3 separate regions of the Homo sapiens genome follow, and regions 1 and 2 are each linked to region 3. The links are contacts of gene promoters, found by promoter capture Hi-C in human tissues and cell types (Jung and others, 2019). All regions are on one chromosome and are shown on one strand. The core of a region is centred on a gene start or on the middle of the fragment in contact, and the rest is flanking DNA. Distances in the headings are between cores, read along the strand shown.

The links. The method cuts DNA at HindIII sites, captures the fragments that hold promoters and counts their contacts. A contact is called where the count stands out against the background at its distance.
Region 1: a contact is called between a fragment that was not itself captured here and the fragment with the promoter of SLC25A46 in region 3, in 1 of the 25 tissues and cell types used here (mesenchymal stem cells).
Region 2: a contact is called between a fragment that was not itself captured here and the fragment with the promoter of SLC25A46 in region 3, in 1 of the 25 tissues and cell types used here (dorsolateral prefrontal cortex).

Annotation. Positions count from the first base shown.
Region 1 is chr5:111,254,877-111,258,740 of GRCh38, forward strand. All of the region lies in intron 1 of CAMK4 (calcium/calmodulin dependent protein kinase IV), which reads left to right. Among named protein-coding and RNA genes, the nearest start is that of CAMK4, 32 kb to the left of the region's middle. RefSeq lists enhancers at 1-102, 263-312. The HindIII fragment of the contact is 7,063 bases long and covers 1-3,864 here.
Region 2 is chr5:109,843,166-109,846,824 of GRCh38, forward strand. It overlaps MAN2A1 (mannosidase alpha class 2A member 1), which reads left to right. Exons shown (of 22, transcript NM_002372.4): 18 at 2,700-2,841. Among named protein-coding and RNA genes, the nearest start is that of LINC01848, 38 kb to the right of the region's middle. The HindIII fragment of the contact is 5,832 bases long and covers 1-3,659 here.
Region 3 is chr5:110,736,961-110,740,856 of GRCh38, forward strand. SLC25A46 (solute carrier family 25 member 46) reads left to right here and starts at 2,047. Exons shown (of 8, transcript NM_138773.4): 1 at 2,047-2,442. The coding sequence starts at 2,160. It also overlaps a transcript of TMEM232 not described here. RefSeq lists enhancers at 1,630-1,679, 1,930-2,059, 2,070-2,139, 3,384-3,885, 3,886-3,896. The HindIII fragment of the contact is 7,779 bases long and covers 1-3,896 here.

The sequences.
Region 1 (3,864 bases), core at 219-2,718, 520 kb after region 3:
GTGGTTTGGAGGAGCTGTTTCTGTAGTCTGTGCAAATACTGTGATGAGGCCCACATCAGATGCTGGGGGGAAATGTGAAGCACCTCATGGCAGTAGCATCACAGTGAGCTCATTGATGAAAAAAGAACCCAACAAAATCCCAGTACTCCTAAAGCTATACTTTGTCCAACTTTTACTTAGTACTTAAAAAAAAAAAAGAATGGTTTTATGTGGTGTTTAAACTGGGCTGTGTATCAAAATTCCCTGGTGTAATTGAAGTACATTTCTGATGGACATTGTTTGAAGGTCTAATTTTGTAGTTGCATGTTGTCTGAACTACTGTTGATGGCCATGAAGCCCTGGTTCCTGAGCCTTATAAATAACTTTGGTCTGCCCATCCTGTGCCATCATCACTTCCATTGGATCTGCTCACTTTGGTGAGCTATGAATGGAAAAACTCTTCCCAAGTATCAAGCAATTATATTTCTCCTTACAAACAGAAAGTGTTTTCAGTGATCTTTATGATAATCTGAGTGGGTTTTCTTGGATTCATGCCCAGCAAGTTTATTTTTGTGTGTAGTAGGCTGATTTTCTGATTTTTCTGTACATTTCTTTGTAGAGTTTACCGAACTGTTTATCTTTGCTGACAACTTCAGCTAGGTCAGAGTTTGTGTAAATTCAGTGAAGCTTTAAAAAAGCCATGATCTAAAGTTCCCTAAGATCTTTATTGCTGACTTTTAGAGTCATGATTTTGTCACAACCTTAGCTGAGCCTGTCTCGGGAATGGAAACAGCAGCTGAATTGTGTGTTTGCATACCCGAAGCCCCAGACCATTCTTGCAAAGCCTCCATTATTTGTCTTTGTAGTCTCAGAAGCTTTGCATTTATGGATTCATTGTATCATCATTTTATGGCTATTTGGAGTCTCTGATGATGTTCTAATTAAATGCCCATTTCCTGCTCACCACTGTTTTATACCGCTTAAAATGCCAACTTCTCCCAGTGTATTTTTGGATATGTGAGTAATGGGTTGAATCAATAGTGTTATTGGAAATTAACTGTTTTTAAGGCTAATGATGTAAAGATTAAAAACATTTCCCCAAGGTCAGTTTCCTTATATTTAGAATGCATACACACACACATATATATAGCTGTATGTATTTTGATATAGACTAATCGATCACAGAATTCAACTGGATATCTCACAAAAATGATCCTGTCTTACATCCATACCATGGCTGCTACTCAGTAATAAAAAGCAAAAAATGATTGGTACATGAAATAACTTGGATGGACTCAAGGGCCATATGTTAGTGAAAAAAGCCAATCTCAAAAGGTGTGATTCTGCTTATATAACACTTTCAAAATGACCAAATTATAGAGGTAGAGAACAAATTAGTCGTTGCCAGGGATTAGGTATGGTGGTGCTATGGTGGGGTGGAATTGGGTGTGATCACAAAGAGGAACATGAGTGATACTATTGTGGGGATGTAATAGTTTTGTATCTTGGTTGTGTTGGTGGTCAGATTAATCAACATGTGAGAAAATGGCATAGAGTTACACACACACATTGCACAAATGTCAGTTTCCTGGTTTTAATATTACTATGATTATGTAAAATATAACCTTTGGGGGAACTGAGTGAAGGGCATGTAGGACTTCTTTATACTAGTTTTGAGACTTCTTGTGAATCTAGAATTATTTCAAAATATTTTATTTGAAATGGGCCAATAGTTTTAGAGAGCCCTAATAAAAATGAGCCTTTTCTTACCAATCAATATCGGTAATAAATGCAGTAATTGACTCTCAGAGCTAGAAAAGACATATAGTATTCACACATAAGTACCAGAATAATGTGGCAGCCCAAGTCTTTTTTTAAAGCTGTTTATAGCTTCTAATCTTGGCAGCAGCTTATTATTTTTGAAAATGTATTAACTACCATGGGCACACTTGTAAAGTGATATTCATTGCTCACAACAGTATCTTTGGTCTTCTGTATTTTGAAAGTTTACCACTTTGGACAGTAAGAGTCATGCCAGCAACATTCCAGCAGTCCTTCAGACAAATCCGTTAAAAAAATAGACATGGCTTTTAAGCAGAAAATTGAAACTGGATCTTTTCTTTACACCTTATACAAAAATTAACTCAAGATGGATTAAAGACTTAAATGTAAAACCCAAAACTGTAAAAACCCTAGAAGAAAATCTAGGTGATACTATTCAGGACATAGGCATGGGCAAAGATTTCATGACAAAAACATCAAAAGCAGTTGCAACAAAAGCAAAGATTGACAAATGGGATCTAATTAAACTAAAGATCTTCTACACAGCAAAAGAATCTGTTATCAGAGTGAACAGACAACCTACAGAATGGAAGAAAATTTTTACCATCTATCCACCTGACAAAGGTCTAATATCCACAATGTACAAGGAACTTAAACAAATTTACAAGAAAAAAACAACCCCATTAAAAAGTGGGCGAAGGACATGAACAGACACTTCTGAAAAGAAGACATTTAGTGGTGACAAACATATTTTAAAAAGCTCAATATCACTGATCATTAGATAAATGCAGTTCAAGACCACATTGAGATATCATCTCACACCAGTCAGAATGACAGTTATTAAAAAGTCAAGAAACAACAGATGCTGGTGAGGCTGTGGAGAAATAGGAATGCTTTTACACTGTTGGTGGGAATGTAAATTGGTTCAACCATTGTGGAAGACAGTGTGGCAATTCCTCAAAGACCTGCAACCAGAAATACCATTAGACTCAGAAATCCCATTACTGGATATATACCCAAAGGAATATAAATCATTCTGTTAGAAAGATACATGCACACGTATATTCATTGCAGCACTATTCACAGTAGCAAAGACATGGAATCAACCCAGATGCCCATCAGTGATAGACTGGCTAAAGAAAATGTGGTACATATATACCAAGGAATACTATGCAGCCATAAAAAGGAACAAGATCATGTCCTTCGCAGGACATGGATGGACCTGGAAGCCATTATCCTAAGCAAACTAACACAGAAACAGAAAAACCAAACACTGCACGTTCTCACTCATGTGGGAGCTGAACATTGAGAACACATGGACAATGAGATACCATCTCAGGGGAACAACACACACTGGGGCCTAGCACGGGGAGGGTGTCGGGGGAGGGAGAGTATCAGGATAAATAGTTAATGCATGCAGGCTTAACACCTAGGTGATAAGCTGATAGGTGCAGCAAACCACCATGGTACATGTTTACCTATGTAACAAACCCACACACTCTGCAGTGTATGGAACTTAAAATCCTGGAACTTAAAAATAGACATGGCTTTATTGGACATTCCAATAGTACCTAGTCTGAATGTCTTTTTTTAACAGATTTAATGAGATATCATTGATGTAAAAATTATATAAGATATATTTAAGATGTACAGCTTGATGTTTTGATATATGTATACTTCAGAAAATACCGCATTCAGGCTGACTAACATACCTATTTGTATTAGTTTGTTTTCACACTGCTGATAAAGACACACCCAAAACTGGGAACAAAAAAGAAGTTTAATTGGATTTACAGTTCCACATGGCTGGGGAGGCCTCAGAATCATGGTGGGAGGTGAAAGGCCCTTCTTACCTGGCAGTGGCAAGAGAAAAATGAGGAAGAAGCAAAGGCAGAAATCCCTGATAAGCCCATCAGATCTCGTGAGACTGATTCACTATCATGAGAATAGCACAGGAAAGACCAGCCCCCATGATTCAGTTACCAACCCCCTGCCCAGGTCCCTCCCACAACACATGGGAATTCTGGGAGATACAATTCAAGTTGAGATTTGGGTGGGGACACAGCCAAATCATATCACCATTACCTCTACAGAGTTATCAGC
Region 2 (3,659 bases), core at 914-3,413, 890 kb before region 3:
ATAAAGGAAAGAGGTTTAATTGACTCACAGTTCTGTATGACTGGAGGGGTAGCCTCAGGAAACTTACAATCGTAGAGGAAGGGGAAGCAGACAAGTCTTACATGGCTGCAGGCAAGAGAGAGAAAAGCCCAGGGGAACTGCCATTTATAAAACCATCAGATCTTGTGAGATCTCCCTCACTGTCAAAAGAACACCATGGGGGGAACCACCCCCATGATCTAGTCTCTGCCCACCAGGTCTCTCTCTCAACACCTGGGGATTACAATTCAAGATGAGATTTGGGTGGGGATACAAAGTCTATATTAGTTGTCCTCATAAGGAATTGATCCATACCTATTAAGTTTGTTCCCTATATATTGGTTTAATGTATGATCTAATAATGGGCCCTTGTAAATTTCAGGAAAACTCTTCCTCTATATGTGTGTGTGTGTATACCATTATACATACACAGACACACATGTATACATATACATAGGTATATCTATTCAGAAATGGGCAGGTATATATTTAATCAAAATTTTCATGAAATGTTTCAAATTGTAGTAAGGAAATTGATTTATACAATCTTATCAGGTTGTCAATTCTCCAATTTAATAGAGCACTTTTGATTGTTACCTAAATCTCTGTTTTCTGAGTGTATGTGTTTGATAACATATCTTTGAAATACCATTAAAACCATGAGCATGTTTTTAAAACAAGTGTTTTAGAAATTTCTGGCTGTGAATAGAAATAATTTTACAATAAACACTTTGATTTTCAACTGGGGGTGGGTGAAAAAGATTTTAATAATTTTCTCTTCTATGATTTCCTGCAAAAGTTAAATTTAAACTTTTTCCAAAACATAAAAATTGCAGCATACATTCTGAATTAGCATGTTAATTCGACTACAGCCATTTGGATTCCAGATAAAATCTCAACTTCATGGTGATTCATTTTTTTATGTACAAAAGAAAGTATTTTCTTAAAATTATACAAAACCAGTTATTTGTATTTTTGGGTGTAGACATGAATGAGAAACTTAGTAAAACCGAATAACTAAAAATGTGAATTTTCTTTTTGAGGATGGAACGTTTGACTAAAAAAGAAAATATTACTTTTAAGTCTGTAATATTTCTGCTTTTAAAATTGACCATTTTTTAAGCTTTGGATATAGTAGTACTTGGGCAAAACTAGGTATCTAGCTCCACCAGTGGGGAATCGGGGTAGCAACAACACGATTGTGGTAGTTTTACATTTTTTAAAATAAGTTTACATTTACAAGTTAATTGGGTTTGGAAAGGAGAAATAGAGAATTCTTTTAAGGTAGCTTTACTTTTTTTTTTTTCTTTAAACATTTTACAGTTGTAGCTTTATCAGTTTATTAATTTCCCAAGGCTGCCATACAAATGGAATCACGTAAAACAACAAAACTTTATTCTTTCACAGTTCTGGAGACTAGATTTCTAACATCAGGGTGTTGGCAGGGCCATATTCCCTCCAAAAGCTATAGGGAAATAACCTTCCTTGCCCTTTCCCAGCTTCTAGTGGTTGCCTATGCTTGGCATTCCTTGGTTTGTGTATGCATCACTCCCATCTCTACCTCTTTTGTCATACAGCGTTCTCCCTATGCCTCTTGTATCTGTCTGTCTGTGTCCAAATTTCTCTCTTCTTGTAAAGATGCCAGTCATTAGGTTAGGTCCCAACATAATCCAGAATGACCTCATCTATTTCTGCAGAGGCTGTATTTCAAAATAAGATCACATTCATGGGTTGTGGGTGGACAGGAATTTGAGAGAGGGAGGCATTATTCAACCTAGTACAACCAGTAATTTGAGGGAGACATTGCAGGGTTGCTGGGAAGATTAAAGATCACATTTGTGAAATACTCCGGACCATGCCTTTCGTTAATGGGCACTTAATACATGTTAACTATTACGGTAACTTTGTACCTCTTCTTTTCTTCACTTTTATATCCAACTTTCATGAGTTTAAATGAGGAGATGACATTTTTATGTGGTATCATTAAGATTCACTGATAATAGGGTTCTGAGCTTAGAGTCAGTCACTGTGACCCAGATGGGCTTTGGGGTTACCGACAGTCTTTCTCAAAAAGTAGAGTCATATTTCAAACATTCAGGTACTAGGCTGCAAGGAATTGGAATTTGGAACTATCTACATTGAAACTAATCAAAAAGAGTAAGCACTGAATGGTTTTTAAATATAAATATGCATTTGATTTTAACATAATATCTTAGAAGATTTGGTGCAGAGACCTGTGGTATTTATTAAAACCAATTCAAGAATAATAAGAGATATTTCTTGAAAGGGGATAGAGAGGTATTATACTTAGCATTCATTACAAAAGCAGTTTGTTAGATTTAGATGAGAAATGAATACTTAATACCTTTATAATTTGTTTTATGCAAATATTGGAGAGCTAGAAGACTTTTAAGCATTTTTATTCTGAATTTAAATAGGAATGCCTATTTTAAAAATCTGGACAAGTTCTACCTTTCCCACCTAAAAGTTGTTTTCTAATATCCTTGTGGTTTTTCTTCATATTGTTTTAAATAATGTTTTAATTTTTAAATTATTTCTTCCACTGAATAAAAAGGAAGCTTTGTCTTTTTCTCTTGGGAAGAAAAATCACCTGTCCTCAAGTTTTTAAAAGAACATATGTAAATATCACTTTTTGTAGATGGAATTGTTGTGTTTTATAGATTCAACCTAGAATGACACTGAGCAAATTGCCTCTTCAAGCAAATGTCTATCCCATGACCACAATGGCCTATATCCAGGATGCCAAACATCGTTTGACACTGCTCTCTGCTCAGTCATTAGGGGTTTCGAGTTTGAATAGTGGTATGTATTGCTTACACTCTTTTCCACTCTGAAAGGTTTCAATTCCAACTGTATACTTTTTCTGTTGGTCAGATGTGGTATAATCTCTAGTTAAAACCTCCCTGTCTTCTTTTCAGCTTTTTTCTTTCAACAACCAGACTATTAGTTAAGTTTGGGTTTTGTGAGAACAACATAAAAAGATGAATCTCCTAAATCTTCAGATGAAGAACAGGAGACCTAAAATTCCATGTCAAGATTTCTTTTTAAAGATAATTTGCTTCTCCTAATAGTATGTATTTTGCAGAGGTCTCCATCATCATTATGATTTAACGGATGTGGAAACTCAGATTCAGAGGTTTAGATAAGTTGCCTACGTTTGCAAAGTTGGGAAGTTGTGGTTCAAACTTAGGTCCTTTTCTGAATCATGGTCTTTCTATTCTGCTACCACCTGAAAGAAGGAAGGGAGTAGAAATGATAGAGATATGGGGATAAAGAGGTGTGGCTTTGAGGATTCCAAAAGAGAGAAAGTGATGCGCAGAAAGTGAGAGAAAATAGTCAATAGACACTGATTAATTTTTGCAAGTCTTTCTATTGAGAGGCTTTGATCCTTTATAATACATATTTTTAATTGGTTATCATACATGGTATCATTGGTCTTCTTACATTCTAAGAGTTGGTAGAGATACATATCTGAAGGAGCCAGATAATAACTGAGTGCAGATTCCTGGTGTGTCCTTTGACACAAGCCCACTTTTTACATGAGGCGTATACATGCATTCTGTATCTTACACACACACACAAAAACTGCTACTTCTCATTTTTCTTTGTGGCCTTCATTA
Region 3 (3,896 bases), core at 797-3,296:
TCTGCTCAAAGGTCACTTCTTCAGAGAGGACTTCCTTATTCTAAAAAAAAAAAAAAAAAGCTTCCTTTATTGCTCACTTAGGCTTTTTTAATACAATCATGTCATTATTTGACATTGCACTATATTTGACAGGATATATTTATCTGTTCTTTGTCTCCCTAAACTAGAATGTCAGTTCTAACAATGCAAGCACCTTGTCTGGCTTATTTATCATTCTATCCTTATTGCTTAAAATAGTATCTGACACGAGATAGGTGCTTAATAAATATATTTTTGTTAAACAACTGTATGGATATACACTTTAAATAATAAATTATTAATCAATAATAATTATTTGATATTTGCATTCCTGCTTATTTTTTTCCTATTATGAGCAAGCATGCCATAAACATATGTATGTTATCCATGCCAGAAACATGTAAAAAACCCCTATATTTGTTTTCTAAGATTTTGGAGTCAAAAAATATGGTTATTTTTACAGTTTTTGATACATAGTGCCAAACTGCTCTCCATCAGAAAGTTATGTTTTATATCACTTCAGAAATTAATGAAAGCTACTTTCTTCTCACCTGGAAAGACAATGTGCATTTTCCCTTTTAAACACCTTAATACGTGAAAGATAATTAAGATTTACCTTTTTTCAATTAGTAAAGGACTTTTTATATGATATTATCTATTTACACTTCCTTTTTTTGTATGAATTGCCTCTACATGTCCTTTGCTCATATTTCTGATTTGCCTTTATTCATTGGTATGAACTCTTTGTACATTAAAGCTACTGTTCCATTGTTTAAACCATGTTAAAATGTCATTTTTCTGTTTGTGATTTGCCTTTCAATTGTGATTACTATATATTTTAAAATTTACTATATGGACATTTAAATTTTATACAGTCAAGAGACTCAACACCTTTGCCCAAGCTGCATCGCAATCAAATTTAAGAATGTCAATTCGTTATTTAAAAATGTTAATTATACATTTTAATGTACGCTATCAAAATATCTCATGTAACCCATAAATATATACACCTACTATACACCCATAAAAAATAAAAAGTGATAAAACCACAGAAAAAAATGTCAGTTCAATCAAAACAAAGTTGATTATCACTCTCAATCAAGGTTCGCATCTGGAAGATCGAGAACTGCACGTCAGAGTTCTCTTGGAAAAGCTCTAGGAATCCTGGGCTTCCAACGAGTTGAAGGAACATAGGATGAAACCATGGAAGTCTTCCTCAGATCTGGGGAGGGAGCCTGGCCCAAGAGCCCGTGGAGCTAATGAAAACAGGTAGTAGGGGACGCTCTACAGTAGTCCTCTCAGTTATTCAATTAGAGGTCCCAATTTTGAACGATATAACTGGGATTTCAATACCCTGAGTGATTTAGACACATCAGAAAAAAATACGACAGAAAACTATAGTTTCTTTACAGCCTTAGAAAAGGAAAACGCGTAATTTCTAACTCCAGGAGGACAGTATTCGAGTACGTGGGTTTCTTTCACCCCCGACGTGCACTTCAACTTTTAAAATGCTTGCTCTGGTGGTCCACAGTACTTTCGCGTTCACTGGGCGGTACCATATCTCTCAATAGATTTGATCCAAAACCCCAAGTGCGGGAGACAAAGCTAGGTGGAACGTTATTAACCCTCCACAACTCCAACCTCTACTAGCTTCCTCGGAGCAGGCGAGGCACCAGGCCCGTGAGAAAACACTGAGATCTGGGGCGTAGCTGTGACATGGGGTATTTCTGGCCGGGATCTCACCGGGTAGGCTCCACCCGCGGGTTATCGGCTCCCTCCAAGAAGCATCTTTGAACTCCTCCCATGCAGGCCCTATTCCTACACCAGTTCTCTTTCTGGAATCTCTTTGGTACTGTGTTTCATTAATCCCACAACCATATTCCCACCTATTCCCTAACGACAACAAACTTTTAAGGTCCAGGTTACCGCCGCGTCTCCCTAGCAACCGTGCCCTTTAATGGTTGCCGGAAGAGGCTATAATCACGTGCTCCGAAGACTTCCGGGTTTCCAACGTGACTTCCGGTTGTCAGAATTTACCCCTGACGCGGCGGCGGCCGACGGGAAGCTGTGTGTGCTTAGGTCGTGGTGGCCCCGGTGGTGGTGGGCTCCGGGCGGGCTCGCGTCATCCTGCCCCCGCTGCGATGCATCCGCGGCGCCCGGACGGATTTGATGGCTTGGGCTACCGGGGTGGTGCCCGGGACGAGCAGGGCTTTGGCGGCGCCTTCCCTGCAAGGTCCTTCAGCACCGGGTCGGACCTGGGCCACTGGGTGACGACTCCCCCAGATATCCCCGGCAGCCGCAACCTGCACTGGGGCGAGAAGAGCCCGCCCTACGGCGTGCCCACCACCTCCACCCCGTACGAAGGCCCCACGGAGGAACCCTTTTCCAGTGGCGGCGGCGGCAGTGTGCAGGGGCAGAGCAGTGGTGAGAAGCATGGGGACCGACACAGGGATGAGGGGTTACTGGGGCCGCGGCTTGCGGCCTGCAGACCCCGGAAGCGGCGCAGAGGATCCCGCCTCCTATTCCTTCTCATCCTATCGCGCGCCACACCCTTTGCCCTCCTTTGGTCCTCTGCCCCTGAGGCTGGCCTCCTCTTCCTCACAAACGAATTCTCCTGGATCAACTCCAAAAAAGACATCTGCCTTAGCTATGGGGTGCATAGCAGGAATTTTTAGAGGTTTTGGTGTCTCAACTGATGGTCTGAGTTAAAAAGGAGATTGGATTATTAACTGTTCCCTGATTCACTTTGGCAGCTCTATTTTCTTGATTTAATTAATTAATTAATGTGTTTACTTGTAGTTTTGTGTTCTGAAAAGAGAAGCCTTTCAGCATAAGCATACTTGGGTTCAAACTTGGTTGTGCCACTCGTAATCTGAACAACTTAACCTCTGTGAGCCCTCAGTTTTCTCATCTTTAAGATGTGTAGAAGAATCCTGTATGGGACACATAGGCTAAAAAAAAAAAGTTTCCTTCCTTTTCCTTTTTGAACACAGGAGTTTTGTCTGCTTTTCAGATCCCCAGTCTAGAAAGTTTCCTTCCTATAATTTTCCTTTCTGCTTTCCTTCTGCTGACCTAAAAACTACATATAAAAGTTAGAAACACTGATACAATTTCAAGATAGGACTTCGGAATCATGACATAATTATTCTCCATGGGATGTCAGAAAAGCTGCAACACTGCATGATGTAGATATTTTCAACATCCTTTTTTATTCATAAAATGTGAATAATGGCTACCTCTTTCTATTCTTCTGGAATTGTTAGAATAATAGATTAATGGTATTAATATTAAATTTATTGTAGAAATCAGCTTTATTCTTATTTCCTCGACTTTGACTTGGAAGTACAATAATATTTAACTAAGAAGAACAGACTAACGAATGTCTAGTGAGTAAATGAGGATGTGAAGAAAGATAGATGACTTACCTAGCTAATTGTCATACAATTAGCTTTTTGACTCTTCCCGGTTTAAAGTTATGCTTTGGTGGTTACAATGAGGAGGAGTTCCTTGACACAAGCAGGGGTTTATTTTGCAGCCTTAACAGGTGGGTGAATGTTAATTTTGCAACAAAGATAGACACCTAAGAGACTTACACAGTAAACAAGATTAAACCTTCCTAACACCTTCCAGAAAATGCTAGTAGCATTTTCTGTTGCTATTTGGGGATGATCTATACATACAAAATGGGTAAGGCCGGGCGTGGTGGCTCACGCCTGTAATCCTAGCACTTTGGGAGGCCAAGGCGGGCGGATCACGAGGTCAGGAGATCGAGACCATCCTGGCTAACACGATGAAACCCCGTCTCCACTAAAAAATAGAAAAAATTAGCCGGGCGTGGTGGCGGATGCCTGTAGTCCCAGCTACTCGGGAGGCTGAGG